Regions from separate parts of the Homo sapiens genome. Here regions 2 and 3 are each linked to region 1. The links are contacts of gene promoters, found by promoter capture Hi-C in blood cells and fetal thymus (Javierre and others, 2016). All regions are on one chromosome and are shown on one strand. The core of a region is centred on a gene start or on the middle of the fragment in contact, and the rest is flanking DNA. Distances in the headings are between cores, read along the strand shown.

Region 1 (4,819 bases), core at 976-3,475:
CATGGTCCCTTCAAAGTCTGGATGTCAAGTTTAATGCTGGGGACTAAAGAGAAAAGCTTCAGATTGAAACCTGGAGGTGGCTGGGGCAAAGGACCATTGGCATCATTGGCAGGGCAACTTCCTAAAGAAAGCACCTAAATCTTGGCTTTTAAAGACAGATTTCATAATTGGCAGAGGAGAATTCTAATGATACCCTATTGCCTACAGGGCCCCATCTAATTTGGGAATTCTACTTTATACCAAGATAAGATTGCCAGATTTAGCAAATAAAAACAGAAGACATCCAATTAATTTTTTTGTTTGTTTTTGGGTTTTTGTTGCGGAGATGGTGTCTCACTATGTTGCGAAGGCTGCTGTCAAATTCCTGGCTCAAACAATCCTCCTGCCTTGGCCTCCCACTTCCCAAAGTGCTGGGATTACAGGCATGAGCTACCACACCTGGCCCTTATTTATTTATTTATTTAATTTTCTTTTTTGGGACGGAGTGTCACTCTGTCGCCCAGGTTGGAGCGCAGTAGCGCGATCTCGGCTCACTGCAACCTCTGCCTCCTGGGTTCAAGCGATTATCCTGCCCCAGCCTCCCAAGTAGCTGGGACTACAGGCGCGTGCCACCATGCCCGGCTTTTTTTTTTTTTTTTTTTTTTTTTTTGAGACGGAGTCTTGCTCTGTCGCCCAGGCTGGAGTGCAGTGGCACGATCTCGGCTCACTGCAAGCTCCGCCTCCTGGGTTCACGCCATTCTCCTGCCTCAGCCTTCCGAGTAGCTGGGACTACAGGCGCCTGCCACCACGCCCGACTATTTTTTGTATTTTTAGTAGAGATGGGGTTTCACCGTGTTAGCCAGGATGATCTCGATCTCCTGACCTCGTGATCCACCCGCCTCGGCCTCCCAAAGTGCTGGGATTACAGGCGTGAGCCACCGCGCCCAGCCTACTTATTTATATTTTTTAAGAGACAGGGTCTCGCTCAGTTGCCCAGGCTGGAGTGCAGTAGGGTGATCTGTAGGAAAGGGGCTTCCAGGCCTTAACTCATGTACTCCCCCATAACCAGGTTGGGAGGTTAGCTCACTGTAACCTCAAACTCCTGTGCTCAAGGTACCCTACTAGCCCCTAGGAGAGCAGCTGGGACTACAGGTATGCGCCACCATGCCAGGCTTAATTTTTACTTTTTTTTTTTTTTTTTTTTTTTGTAGAGACGGGGGTCTCACTATATTGCCCAGGCTGGTCTTGAACTCCTGGTCTCAAGCGATCCTCCTGCCTTAGCCTCCCAAAGTATTGGTATCACTGCAACTAGCCCAAAGAATTAATATAGCTATGTTCCATGTGATATTTGGGACATACTTTTCTAAAAGGTTGTATCTTTTGGATATAATTGTTTATCTGAAATTCAAATTTAACTAGACATTGTATATTTTATACGGCAACCACACACCTGGGACAATCAAGACATTCCCTGAAGTTACCAGGAGACAATGCCCATCAGCCTACACTTTTCCAAGCCCACGTCACACAAGGCCCCTTCCAGAGTATTCCAGACGTCAGGTAGGGCCATCCCTTGGTTCACAAGTCCCACTCCTACCACGCCTATGGCAGCCAAACTGAAAGGCAAACACAGTGCTGGAGACCCCACAATGCCCTGGGCCTATAGCAGTCAATTCCCAAGATGCCCCGCGTGAACACAATAGGCACCCGTTCCAATGCTCGAGCAAAGAGACCAGGGCAAAACCTTCCACTACGGGACAATAACGGCCAGTTCCCACAATTCGTTGTGGCAGTTCTTCCCAGGATGCCTTAGGCCTATAGCGACCACCTTCCCAGACTCCCCGTGTGGAAGCGCTCCAAGCCTCCAGGACGGTCAGCGGCAGGTGTGGGATAAAAGGAACCGGTCTCGACAAGGATCTGGGACACTCTTTCCCAGGATGCACCAGGCCTACGACTAGCGGACCGACTCCCACAGCGCTTCAAGGCGGAGCGCTCGGTTCTCCCAGGATGCCCCAGGGCGGCACAAACGCGTAGGGGGAGAAAAAGAAGCCCTCGGGTCACCACGGCCCCAGACCGCCGGCTCCCCGGTGACGGGAGTCGTCGCTCCCATCATGCAGCGGGGCCGTAGCGCCCGCTTCCCGGCATGCCTCGCGCACCCCTGCCCGGGACACTCACCGGCGCCGGCGGCCCCCGCTCCGGCTCTGCGGCGGCGGCTGCACGCCCAGCCTCTGCGCCTGCGTCGCAAGTAGGGTAGGACAGCGCGCAGGGGGCGTGAAGAGCCTAGGGCGCTTGCGCGGCGAGACGGACTAGTCCTGTAGCGCTGTGGGAAGAGGGGCTATGCGCGTCGGGCCGTCGACGAGACCCGCGCGGGGGGCGCCGTGCTTTGCCCCTCGCTGCCTGGGTTTACTTGGTACAGCCCGCGGCCCAAAGGAACAAGAAGCTGAAGGGTTCGCGCGTGCGTGTGCGGGGCAGGAACGCGCCTTACAAAACTGGGATGCGCTGGGGGTGGAGGGCGCTAGTTCGGACTGGATCCTGGGCCCGAGGCCTGCTTATTTGCATAATCCTAGCGCGGGACAATGAAAGGCCTCCCGCACTGGAAGGAGTGATTTGCATATTCCCCGGAGGGGCCTTACTCCAGAGCGCAGTGATTAGCATATGGCGGGGGCAACCTGAGCAAAGCGCATGCGCGCAGGGACTGCAGACTGACGCGAAGTGGGTAGCCTTGTCTTCGTAGGGGATCAGTTTGCATCCTGAGAGAGGGCACGAGGGCCAGGACCCCTCCCAACCAGGATAAAGGTTTATTGATCTCCTAGGTGTCAGGCCCCATGCTGGCGGATTCTGTGGTTTCTGCAGTGAACCATACTCCTGTACTCACGGCACCCCAGTCGAAGGAGATACGCACCTAATTAGACAACTACTACCCAGAAGGTCAGACCTGGAGTGAGGAACACAGGGGGCTGTGGGAGCCTAAGAGGCGCTTGCCCCGGCCTCTGGTTCTAGAAAGACTTCCAGGAGGTGGTGATCCTTAAGCCAAGTACGAATAGGAGCCAACTAGAATGGGAATGGGTCTGGCAGAATGAACTGCAAGCGCCAAGGCCCAGAGGCCAAAAAAAAAAAAAAAAAAATAGAAGCGCATGTTTTGATTGAGGAAGCAAGAGCAGCTTAGTATGCCTAGAACCTAACTGGAGACGGGAAATGGTTCTATAGACGATGTTAGAGTTCAACTATGGCTACATTCCAGTCTTCCTGTAAGTGACTTTGTCACATTCTGGCTTAAAACTCCCCCAAAGGGATCCCATTAGGAAAAAAAAAAAATCCAAAAATCTTTATCATGGCCTCAGGGCTATACACCTGGTCTGGCCGTGCTTATCTTTCTGACCCCACCTACTTCCTCCTCCCTCCATTTCTGTCCAGCTCCACCTTACCCCAAACTCTTTACCAGCTCGGGCCTCTGCTCTTGCCGTTCCCTCCGCCTGAAAATGCTTTTCCCTCTGACCTTTGAATACCTACTCTTGTGCTCACCATTCATATCTTGGTACAGATGTCAATCTGAGAGGCTTTTCCTGATCTCTCCATAATAGCACTTACACATTTGACTGGAGTTATGGATAAATCGGGATTGGCCATGAGTTGGTGGTGGTTGTAACTGGCATGAAGAGTACATGGGGCTGGGCGCGGTGGCTCACGCCCGTAATCCCAGCACTTTGGGAGGCCGAGGCTGGTGTATCACCTGAGGTCAGGAGCTTGAGACCAGCCTGGGCAACATGGTGAAACCCTGCCTCTATTAAAACTACAAAAATTAGCCAGGGGTTATGGGGGGTGCCTGTAATCCTTGCTACTTGGGAGGCTGAGGCACGAAGATCACTTGAACCCTGGAGGCAGAGGTTGCATTGAGTCGAGATTGAGCCACTGCACTCCAGCCTGGGCCACCCAGCGAGACTCTGGGTCTCGCCTGTAATCCCAGCACTTTGGGAGGCCGAGGCGGGCGGATCACGTCAGAAGATCGAGACCATCCTGGCCATCCTAGACCATTTCTACTAAAAATACAAAAAAAAAAAAAAAAAAATTAGCCGGGCGTGGTGGCAGGCGCCTGTAGTCCCAGCTACTCGGGAGGCTGAGGCAGGAGAATGGCGTGAACACGGGAGGCGGAGCTTGCAGTGATCCGAGATGGCGCTACTGCACTCCAGCCTGGGCGACAGAGCGAGACTTGGTCTCAAAAAAAAGAGTACATGGGACGTTATTGTCCTGTCTACTCCTGTGGGTTTGAAGTTTTCCATAATGACAATGGCATACCACATCACCATACTCTGCATTTATATTAATAGTTCTTATCACAATCTGAACTTTCTTTGCTTCCTTGTTTTGAGTGTTTTCCTCATGAAAGCTTCATGAGGGTAAGAATGGAGTCGCCCTTTTTCACTTTGGGTTCTCAATGCTTAGAGCAGGATCAGATTTCAGATTAGTGTAGCGCTGTCTTTAACACTTAACATTTGCCTGTTTTATTCACCATGGACTCTAGAACTTTGAGCAGCACCTGGCACATCGTAAGAGGTTATTTTTTAAAGTTAGAATAATACATCTAAAATGTACATGAATGAATGAGAGGCCTGGGATGCCAGACTAAAGAGCTTTGACTTGGTCTAAAGGTGATGGGGAGCTAGGCAAAGGTTTTGAGAGTTTAACTTTAATTCAAAGTTCCCTTGGAGACTAATGTCTGGGGTAGGGGGAAGCCAGGGTAAGGGTCCGGGCCATGGAATGGGGTAGCTCAGTCGCTATCAAAAAGACAAGACTGTGACTATTTGGCTGAAGAAATGGCCAAACCCAGGTTTCTGGGGAGGTC
Region 2 (4,819 bases), core at 1,264-3,763, 130 kb after region 1:
CTCCTCCCGTGGCTTCATGAGAACGATGGGCTTCTCCAGAGGGGCTGGAGCAGGCGGGGCAGCAGGGGCTGTTGGAGGTGGTGGCTGTTTTGACTACGGAGGTAAAAAAAATCCCATCAATGGGGGCAATCCCTTCCCTAACGGCTCCCCCTCCTCCCTCCTTCTCTGCTCACCCGCTCTGCTGGAGGTTTTGAGAGGATGATGGGGGTTTTCTGCATGACGGAAGTGCTTGTCTCTTCGCTGGCATCCTGTGGTGAGGGAGGGCAGTTACTCATGAATGGCTCTCCTGGACATTCCAGATCTTTATGTACCATGAACTATTCTAAATGCCGAAATATATTAACTACCTTGATCCTACCAACAGCCCTGTGAGATAGATACTATTATTACCCCCACTTTACAGATGAAGAAAATGAAGCCTAGAAAGGTTAAGCAGATTGCCCAAAGTCACAAAGCCCAGGCAGCCTGGCTGCAGAACCAAATCCTCAAGCATTCTGCTCAGCTGCCTCTGCGAGGCAACAAGCCCAGGAGGAAAGGAACTAGGAGCTAGACAGGTCTGGGTGCAAACCTGATCCCGCCTCGTGTTGGCTGTGTGAACTTGAATAAGGAACCACCCTCGCCACCTTCACTTATGCCTCATTTTCCCATCTGTGAGTGGGTATGGGAATTCCTTCCTCACAGACTATGATGAGGATGAAAGGAGAGAGAACTCATCAAGTGTCTAGCATGGCACCTGACACATGGCAGGTGCTCACTATGTGAGAGCTGCTGGTGGCACTTGCTATCCTGATCACCTCTGCCTCAGCCCCCTCCTGCTCTGGCAAAGCTGGCAGGCTGATCCCAAGCCTTGACCTCTTCATGCCTCCCCAACTTACCCTCAGTCTGCTGAAGAGGGGAGAAATCTGAGTCTGAGTCCCGTTCTTTCTCTGGTTCCTTGAGTAACCTCATGAGAGTCTTGACCCCTAACTGTGTCTGTTCCTTCACCAATATACTGAGGACACTTACTTAAACCCTGCTCACTTCACTGGCTTACGGTGAAGAACAAACAAAAAGACGAAGTGAAAGTGCTTCGAAAAGAAGTTTCAAGGGAAAAACTACAGGAGGAGAGGCTGTGGACTTCCAGGAGGCTAGGAAGGGGGAGATGATACAGGCTGAGTATCTCTTATCTCAGATGCCTGGGACCAGAAGTGTTCTGAATTTGGGATTTTTTTGAACTTTGGAATATTTGCATATTTACTGGTTGAGCACCCCAAATCCATTTGCAAGGCTCCAATAAACATTTCCCTTAAATGTCACGTTGGTGCTCAAAACATTTGGAATTTTGGAGCACTTCGGATATTCAGTCTATACCTGGGATGAACGCTGTGAGGGTAGAGAGAAGACACACAGATATAACCAGGCGGCAGAATGTAAAGCACTGGTGCCTGACTAGCACAGAGGAAGCAGGGGAGAGGCGAGAGAGGCATTCAGGATAAGGCCCAATGGGCTGTCACTGATATGGGAGAAAAAAATGGGAAGAGGAAAAATGGCAGAAAGATGCCGAGGTCAGCACGGGACACAGAGGATAAGAAGCCCATGGGTGTGACAAGAGGCTGCCAGGGCTCAGTAGCACATTTAGAGACAAAGATGAGGTTTAGGAGGTGCTTGTTCAAGGATTAAACCTGAAGGTGTGGCGGGATAACATTCCCCAGGAGGGCATTATGTGGAAGGAAGAGAGACTACGTGTTCTCATTTACACTGTGGCCCAAGAGAAGGAGCAAGTAAGAGCCCAGCTCACTGTGAAAAAACTATTCTTCATGTTTGTACAGTTTTATAGCTCAGAAGCTGGCCCCAGTTGTCACCTACTTCCACCCTACCTGACATCTCTGAGGTGGACAGGGCCCTAGAGAAAAAAGCCCAGGGGGCAGGTTCTGGCAGTGAGTCACCTAGGTACAGGAGGGGAGCGAGGCTGGGCCTGGGCACAAGCCGATCCCTCCTGATTCCCAGCCCAGGGCGCTCTCTACAGCAGGCAGAGCGATGCTATATGTGAGACTAAGCTGGACCTGGATCTGAGTCCTGGACCCAAAGTTTATTGACTCTGATTTTGGAAAAGTCCCTTCACCTCTGGGGCTCATTTTCCTCATTAGTGAAAATCAGATCTATCATAGAATCTACCTCATGGGGTAGCTGTAAGGGTTCAGGAAGACCCAAAGGATGTAAAAGACTTTGCACAGTGCAAGCACAGTATAGGCTGCTCAGTAAAAAGAGTAACAGTTGTTGTTATTATGACATGACCCTTTAAAACATGAGCTATGGCACCTCTCAGCTCAAACTCTCCAATGCCAATTTCACTCAGTGAAATACAAAGTTCTTTCCAAGGCCTACCAGGTCCTACATGATTTGGCCCCAGTTACTTGACTTCATCTCCTATCTCTCTCCCTCCTTCCTCATCAATTGCAGCCATCCTGGCCTCCTATGGCTACTCCTTGAACACGCCAGATATGGGCCACCTCAGGGCCTCTGCGCTTGCTGTTCTTTCTGTCTGGAATGCTCTTCATCTCAGATGCTGGCATGGCTTATTCTCTCATCTCCTTCAAGTCTCTGCTAAAAAGTCACCTCTTCAGAGAGACCTTCTCTGACCATGTTATCTAGAACAGTCTCCTTTATCACTCTCCACCTTCTTTATCCATGAGGGTGGTAGGTTTTGTTTACAAATATATCCCCGGCATCTGGATTAGTGCCTGGCACATGGCAGGTGCGTGGAACCAAATAGATACATGAATGCTGCTCCTGGGTCCAGACACTCACCCTTCTCTCTCTTTCCCATGGTGCAATGTAGTCCCTCTCCCGACCACCAGGCCCAGAGAGATTCTGGGGGCCACCAGAGCCAGGCTCCTTCCACCGTCGCCGCCGCTCTATCCCATAGAGTCCAGGCTGACTGTGTCCAGACTCAGACATGGTTACCTATGGAGGGAATGAGGGGATTTCAGGATGACAGAGTCTCTTCCTACTCTACTTGGCATATCCTAGACTATACGAAGTCCCTTCTTTCTTTTTTTTGGAGATGGAGTCTCTCTGTCGCCCAGGCTGGAGTACAGTGGCCTGATCTTGGCTCACTGCAACCTCTGCCTCCTGAGTTCAAGCAATTCTTCTGCCTCAGCCTCCCAAGTAGCTGGGATTACAGGCACCCACCACCATGCCTGGCTAATTTTTATATTTTTAGTAGAGATGGGGTTTCACCATGTTGGCCAGGCTGGTCTCGAACTCCTGACCTCAGGTGATGCACCTACCTTGGCCTCCCAAAGTGCTGGGATTACAGATGTGAGCCACTGTGCCCAACCAAGGCTCTTCCTTTCTTCTTTTTTTTGAGACAGAGTTTCGCTCTTGTCACCGAGGCTGGAGTGCAATGGCGTAATCTCGGCTCACTGCAGCCTCCACCTCACAGATTCAAGCAATTCTCCTGCCTCAGTCTCCTGAGAAGCTGGGATTACAGATGCCCACCACCACACCCGACTAATTTTTTTTGTATTTTTAGTAGAGATGGGGTTTCACCATGTTGGCCAGGCTGGTCTCAAACTCCTGACCTCAGGCAATCCACCTGCCTCAGCCTCCCAAAGGGCTGGGATTATAGGCGTGAGCCACCATGCCCGGCCAAGGCCCTTCCTTTCAACAGAGCTCTGGGCCTGTGGTAGCAACTGCAAGCTGGTTCCCAACATCCACTCCTGACTTCTTCCAAAAAAGTAAAACCCTCAGTTCTGAGCTAGGTACATGGCTATCCAGAACAAACTTCTCATCCTTGTTTGCAGTTAGGTGTGGCCATGTGAGTAAGTACTTTCTGGCTATGGTATGACACTAGAAGTGTGGCTTGGCAGCTTCCAGAAACTTCCCTTCACAGACTCTGGCACATGCCTTCTGCCCCTTCCTCCCAGTGACAGGAATGTGGGTGTGGAGGTTGGAGCTCAAGCAGCTATCCTGGGCTGTAAGGCAATTTAATGGAAGGTACAATAAAACAAGACACAAGGTTGGGGGGTTCCACGTTAACCTTGAATTGCCTACTTCGAGAGGCAGTGAAAAACAAATACACATCTATCTCTTACTTGCAGCCAAAACTATTCCCAACTATTAAAATGCTCCAACATAAATAAACTCACAGGGGCAAGTTCACATAAAAATAGGATATTCTCCTTACCAAAATGCAGCAAGGCATTTGCTTACAAACCAGCAATGTGATCCTCAGTCCAACAGCTACTCTTGATTAGTCATTACTAGTGTATGTCATGGTGGGGCTCCAGCCACTTACTAGTGTATGTCATGGTGAGGTTCCAACACTCAAGGGCCTATTTTCACCTGGTATCCCACTACATTTCAGTGTCTGTCTGTCTTCCGTTCCTGACGGTCTGCCTTCCCTCACAGTGAATTTCATTTCAAGGTGTCTCCAGTGTTTATTCTATTTGAGATGTTATATAATGTCTGGCTACCTATGCAACCCACTCTCCACCATTTCAGTATCTGTTTACAGGTCCTTAGAGAGTTTTCCCAGCTGTTCACACATCAGTCTAGGGTGGTATTTGACTACTTAACTGTTTGTAGAACTCAGTGGGGCTATCTGCTCAAGCTCAGAAGTCAGGTTGACAAAGTGTGGCCTAGGGGCCAAATCTGGTCTGCTTTCTGTTTTTGTAAATAGAAAGTTTTATCGGAACATGGCCACATCCATCAATTTAGAAACTGTCTGTGGCTGCCTTCTTGATGCAATGGCAGAGCTGAGACAGACAATACAGTCTGCAGGGCCTAAAATAATTATTCTCTGGCCTTAACAGAAAGTTTTACTGAATGGCCGAGT
Region 3 (4,819 bases), core at 2,320-4,819, 140 kb before region 1:
CTTGGGAGGCTGAGGCAGGAGAATCGCTTGAACCCGGGAGGCAGAGGTTGCAGTGAGCCAAGATGGCGCCACCGCACTCCAGCCTGGGCAACAGAGCCAGACTCCATCTAAAAAAAAAAAAAGAGCCACGTGTGGTGCGGTGGTTCACGCCTGTAATCCCAGAACTTTGAGAGGCTGAGGTGGGCAGATCATGAGGTCAGGAGTTTGAGACCAACCTGGCCAACACAGTGAAACCCCGTCTCTACTAAAAATACAAAAATTAGCCGGGCACGGTGCCTGTAATCCCAGCTACTCAGGAGGCTGAGGCAGGAGAATTGCTTGAACCAGGGAGGCGGAGGTTGCAGTGAGCCGAGATGGCGCCACTGTACTCAGGCCTGGGCGACAGAATGAGACTCTGTCTTAAAAAAAAAAAAAAAGAAGAAAATTAACAGTGGCTGAAGGCCAGAGTCTGGGCTCTTAATTTTTAGTCCCTGCAGTCAGGTGACCTGTTTGTTTTCTCTGCGACAAACACGTACTCCTATGAGTACCCTGACAGGAGAAGCTGCGGGTGGCTTTCCCCAGGATGAGCCAGGGATGAGATAAGGCCTGACTCCAACTGAGTCTCCAACTGGGAGGTCAGGGTGACATTGAGGGGCTTCACCTTGAAGGCACAGCGTAAGTGGTCATAATAGACTTCCTCAATGGCCTGGAAGTAGATGACACCTTTGAGCTTGGTCTCTTCCTTGTCTGGTAGGGGAGGTAAGAGAAAAAGAGAGCCAGTGAGAAAGGTGTGTCTGTGTGTGTCGAGGTGAGGGTCATTGGCCCTAAGTCCTGAGACTGGATTTGGGTAAGAAACATGGTGACAAGAGTCTGAAGGTCTCTAAAGGTTGGGAGGTGAGTGAATGTTAACGCTGGATGGGAGACTGGGCACAGAAACTGGACATGATTGGGGAGTGGGGTCTGTGGAGCTGGAATCCTAGGCCCTGAATGCTCGGCCTCTGAGAAGGGAAGGAACTCAGGGAGTGCTCAAGTGCTTTCTAGGTATAATCTCTAACCCTCTCAAACTCTCCTGGAGGGGTAAGTACATTTATCTCCATCTGACAGATGTGGAAACCAAGACTCAGAGAAGTTAAGGCACCCAGCACAAGTCACACAGCCAGAGCTGACAGAGCCAGGACTCACCAAGTAGAGTCAAATGGTCATACAGGTTAGGGAAGAAGGATTTGAGACAATACAAGCGTCCAAGGAGGCTGGGTGCAGTGGCTCAAGCCTGTAATCCCAGCACTTTAGGAGGCTGAGGCAGGCAGATCACAAGGTCAGGAGATCGAGACCATCCTGGCTAACACAGTGAAACCCTGTCTCTACTAAAAATACAAAAAATTAGCCAGGTGTGGTGGCATGAGCCTGTAGTCCCGCCTATTCAGGAGGCTGAGGCAGGAGAATCGCTTGAGCCGGGGAGGTGGAGGTTGCAGTGGGCTGAGATCGCACCACTGCACTCCAGCCTGGGCGACAGAGCAAGACTCTGTCTCCAAAAAACAAAAACAAAAACAAAAACAAAAAAAAGTGTCCAAGGAGAGGTTTGGAATAATTGATTCTCCTAGAGAAGAAGGACAAGGGCCCCAGACTCCTGGCCATTGGGGGGCTGGGGGCAGCTGACAGTGCAGGTTCAGACTCATGGGTGTCTTAGGAACATGGGCCCTGGGAAGCTTGAATTGTACTAAACTGTTATCTATGTCCCTGAGGAGGACTGGGGGTTTGAATTCTGGGTGGCTTAAAGAGGGGCTGGGGATCTGGATTCCAGGGTCTGGAGGAGAGAGAGAGCTGGGAGCCTGGACTCCTGGGTTGTAGGGAAGTTAGGAGCTAGGGAACCAAACTTCTGGATCCTGGGGAACATGGAAAGTGGGGGCCAGGACTTCTGGTGCCTGTAGAGGAAAGGCCTCCGGAGTGGAATTCCAGCGTCCTGGGGCCCATGGTGGCCAGGCTGGGCTTACCCGCATAGTAGGCCAAGCGGCGGGCTTGGCGGTCAAAGCAGAACCATCGCTTCCTCCAGGTCTTGATGCGGCCGCCCATCTTCACCAGGGGTCCACGGCAGCAGCACCCAGACACCTGCACATGTGGGCAGTTTTCCGGGTTGTGGCCCCATCCCTCCAGATGCTGCCGGAGATCCAAGATTCGCGGGCCTGGAGGGTGGGGTGGGGTGGGTGGGGCCTGGGGAGCAAAGAGACGGGGCAGCTGATGTAAGGGGCGGGGGATTCTACAGCCTGGAGCCCCTCGAGGGGAGCAAGTCATAGCAGCTTGCATGTAAGGCCCGCTACAGCCTTTAGAGGGTAATATTAACTAGGACCATCTGACAAATGCAACGGCTACGTGGATTGACTGTGATGCTCTGCCCAGGACTTTATGGACATCAGCTCCTTGGCACTTCATGGCAACTGTGAGCCCCATTTTACAAATGAGCAAAATGAGGTACAGAGAGATGACATAATGCACCCGAGGTCACACAGAGCTTCTAGGCAGCAGAACTGGGACACGAACCCAGGTATTTCTGACCCTAGAGCTCACCCTGAAACATCAGAGGCCTATCAAAAGAAATAAAGATCGGGCCGGGTGTGGTGGCTTATGCCTGTAATCTCAGAACTTTGGGAGGCTGAGGTAGGAGGATCCCTTAGGCCTAAGAATTCAAGGGCAGCCTGGGCAACATAGTGAGATCCTGTCTCTGAAAAAAAAAAATTTTTTTTGGAAAAAAGAAATGAAGATTGGAGCCTGTGTGGTGGCTTAAGCCTGTAATTCCAGCTACTCAGGAGGCTGCGGTGGGAGGATCCCTTGATCCCAGAAGTTGGAAACCAGCCTGGGCAACACAGAAGACCCCTTCTCTATTTAAAAAAAAAAAAAAAAAAAAAAAAAAAAGGAGAGAGAGAAGAGAAGCTATGTGCAGTGGCTCATGCCTGTAATCTCAGCACTTTGGGAAGCTGAAGTGGGAGGATCACTTGAGGCTATGAGTTGGAGACCAGCCTGGGCAATATAGTGAGACCCCATCTCTACTAAAAATCCAAAAAATTAGCTGGGCCTAGTGCTGCACACCTGTAGTTCCAGCTACTAAGGAGGCTGAGCCCAGGAGGATCACTTGAGCCCAGGAGATCGAAATTGCATTGAGCTATGATTGCACCACTGCACTCCAGCCTGGGTGATTGAGTGAGACCCTGTCTCAAAAATAAAAAAGAAAGAGAGAGCTTGTTTACATTATTATTGTTGTGATGAAATTAATGAATATAATCCTCTGCTAAGTACTTTCTAGGTATAATCTCTGCCCCCTCAAACTCTCCTGAAGGGGTAAGTACATTTATCTCCGTTTCACAGATGTGGAAACCAAGACTCAGAGAGGTTAAGTCACTCGGCACAAGTCACACAGCCAGAGCTGACAGAGCCAGGACTCACCAGGTAGAGTGGTCACCTCAGATGGTCATACAGGTTGGGGAGGAGGATTTAAGGCAATACAAGTGTCCACTATTTATGAGAGCCTGACCATGAGCTGGTCTGATCCAACCTATTCTTCCCAAATAATCCCTGCAAACAGTGGTATGATTCCGGAGGTCAAACTGAGGTTCAGGGTAGTACATCTCAGATTTCTTCATGCAAGCAGATCCGCTGGGGATTTTGTTAAAATGTTAAAATGCAGACTCTGATTCAGTCATTTCAGGGTGGAGTCTGGAGTAGGGGGAGAGGTTCTGCATGTCTGACAAGCTCCCAGGTGGGCCCTGATGCTGCTGTTCCACCAGCCACACTTTGAGTGTCAAGGAGTTAGAAAACTGAAGCAGGATGGGTGCGGTGGCTCACACGTGTAATCCCAGCACTTTGGGAGGCCAAGAGGGGAGGATCACTTAAACCCAGGAGTTTGAGACCAGCCTGGGGCAACATGGCGAAACCCCGTCTCTACAAAAAATACAAAAATTAGGCTGGGCGTGGTGGCTCACGCCTACAATCCCAGCACTTTGGGAAGCCAAGGTGGGGGGATCACCTGAGGTTGGGAGTTTGAGACCAGCCTGACCAACATGGAGAAACCCTGTCTCTGCTGAAAATACAAAATTAGCCAGGCGTGGTGGCGCATGCCTGTAATCCCAGCTACTCAGGAGGCTGAGGCAGGAGAATCGCTTGAACTCGGGAGGTGGAGGTTGCGGTGAATCAAGATGGCACCATTGCACTCCAGCCTTGGCAACAAGAGCGAAACTCCATCTCAAAAAAAAAATACAAAAATACAAACATTAGCCAGGCATGGTGGTGTGTGCCTAGGATCCCGGCTAATTAGGAGGCTGAGGTGGGAGGATCGCTTGAGCCCAGGAGGTGGGGGTTGCAGTGAGCCGAGATCACACCACGGCACTCCAGGCTGGGTGACAAAGGGAGACCATGTCTCAAAAAAAAAAAAAGAAAGAAAAGAAAGAAAACTGAAGCAAGGCCAGAGCAAGAAGGGATGAGAAACAGAGATGAGATCTGCTGGTTGGAGACAGGAGAGTGAGGTGGGGAAATGAGAAGGATTAGGGAGGAGGGAAAGGAAGGGAGGGAAAGGCCAGGTTTAAAGAGTACCCGCTGGGCCTGCAATCTCCCCAAATCCACACAGAAAGACCAAGGATCACCACTGTGTGTGGAAGCTCCCGCTCTGTGTCAGGCACTATGCCAAGTGGTCACTGTGATTACCTCGTTTCTTCTCCAAAAGAACCCATTAATGTTCCTGCTAGACAGATCAAGAAACTGAGGCTTTAAGAAGAGGTGACTCTCCAAGGTCACCAAACTAGGATGTAGGGGAGCTGGGCCCCAATCTAGGAGGAGACCAGGGATGGGCTTGGGA

Evidence for each region. The method cuts DNA at HindIII sites, captures the fragments that hold promoters and counts their contacts. A CHiCAGO score of 5 or more calls a contact.
Region 2: a contact is called between a fragment that was not itself captured here and the fragment with the promoter of ZNF428 in region 1, in 12 of 17 cell types (non-activated CD4 T cells, naive CD8 T cells, monocytes and 9 more). The highest score is 9.7, in non-activated CD4 T cells.
Region 3: a contact is called between a fragment that was not itself captured here and the fragment with the promoter of ZNF428 in region 1, in 3 of 17 cell types (naive CD8 T cells, fetal thymus and total CD8 T cells). The highest score is 5.2, in naive CD8 T cells.

The regions. Positions count from the first base shown.
Region 1 is chr19:43,617,404-43,622,222 of GRCh38, forward strand. It overlaps ZNF428 (zinc finger protein 428), which reads right to left and starts at 2,226. Exons shown (of 3, transcript NM_182498.4): 1 at 2,155-2,226. LOC105372411 (a long non-coding RNA gene) reads left to right here and starts at 1,658. Exons shown (of 4, transcript XR_001753942.2): 1 at 1,658-2,229. RefSeq lists an enhancer at 1,585-2,235 and a silencer at 2,040-2,279. The HindIII fragment of the contact is 4,307 bases long and covers 55-4,361 here.
Region 2 is chr19:43,747,805-43,752,623 of GRCh38, forward strand. It overlaps SMG9 (SMG9 nonsense mediated mRNA decay factor), which reads right to left. Exons shown (of 14, transcript NM_019108.4): 2 at 2,788-2,943; 3 at 174-248; 4 at 1-93. The coding sequence starts at 2,937. Among named protein-coding and RNA genes, the nearest start is that of SMG9, 4.7 kb to the right of the region's middle. RefSeq lists a silencer at 1-109. The HindIII fragment of the contact is 8,040 bases long and covers 1-4,819 here.
Region 3 is chr19:43,477,407-43,482,225 of GRCh38, forward strand. PHLDB3 (pleckstrin homology like domain family B member 3) reads right to left here. Exons shown (of 16, transcript NM_198850.4): 14 at 1,971-2,187; 15 at 641-726. Among named protein-coding and RNA genes, the nearest start is that of LYPD3, 14 kb to the left of the region's middle. The HindIII fragment of the contact is 3,772 bases long and covers 1,684-4,819 here.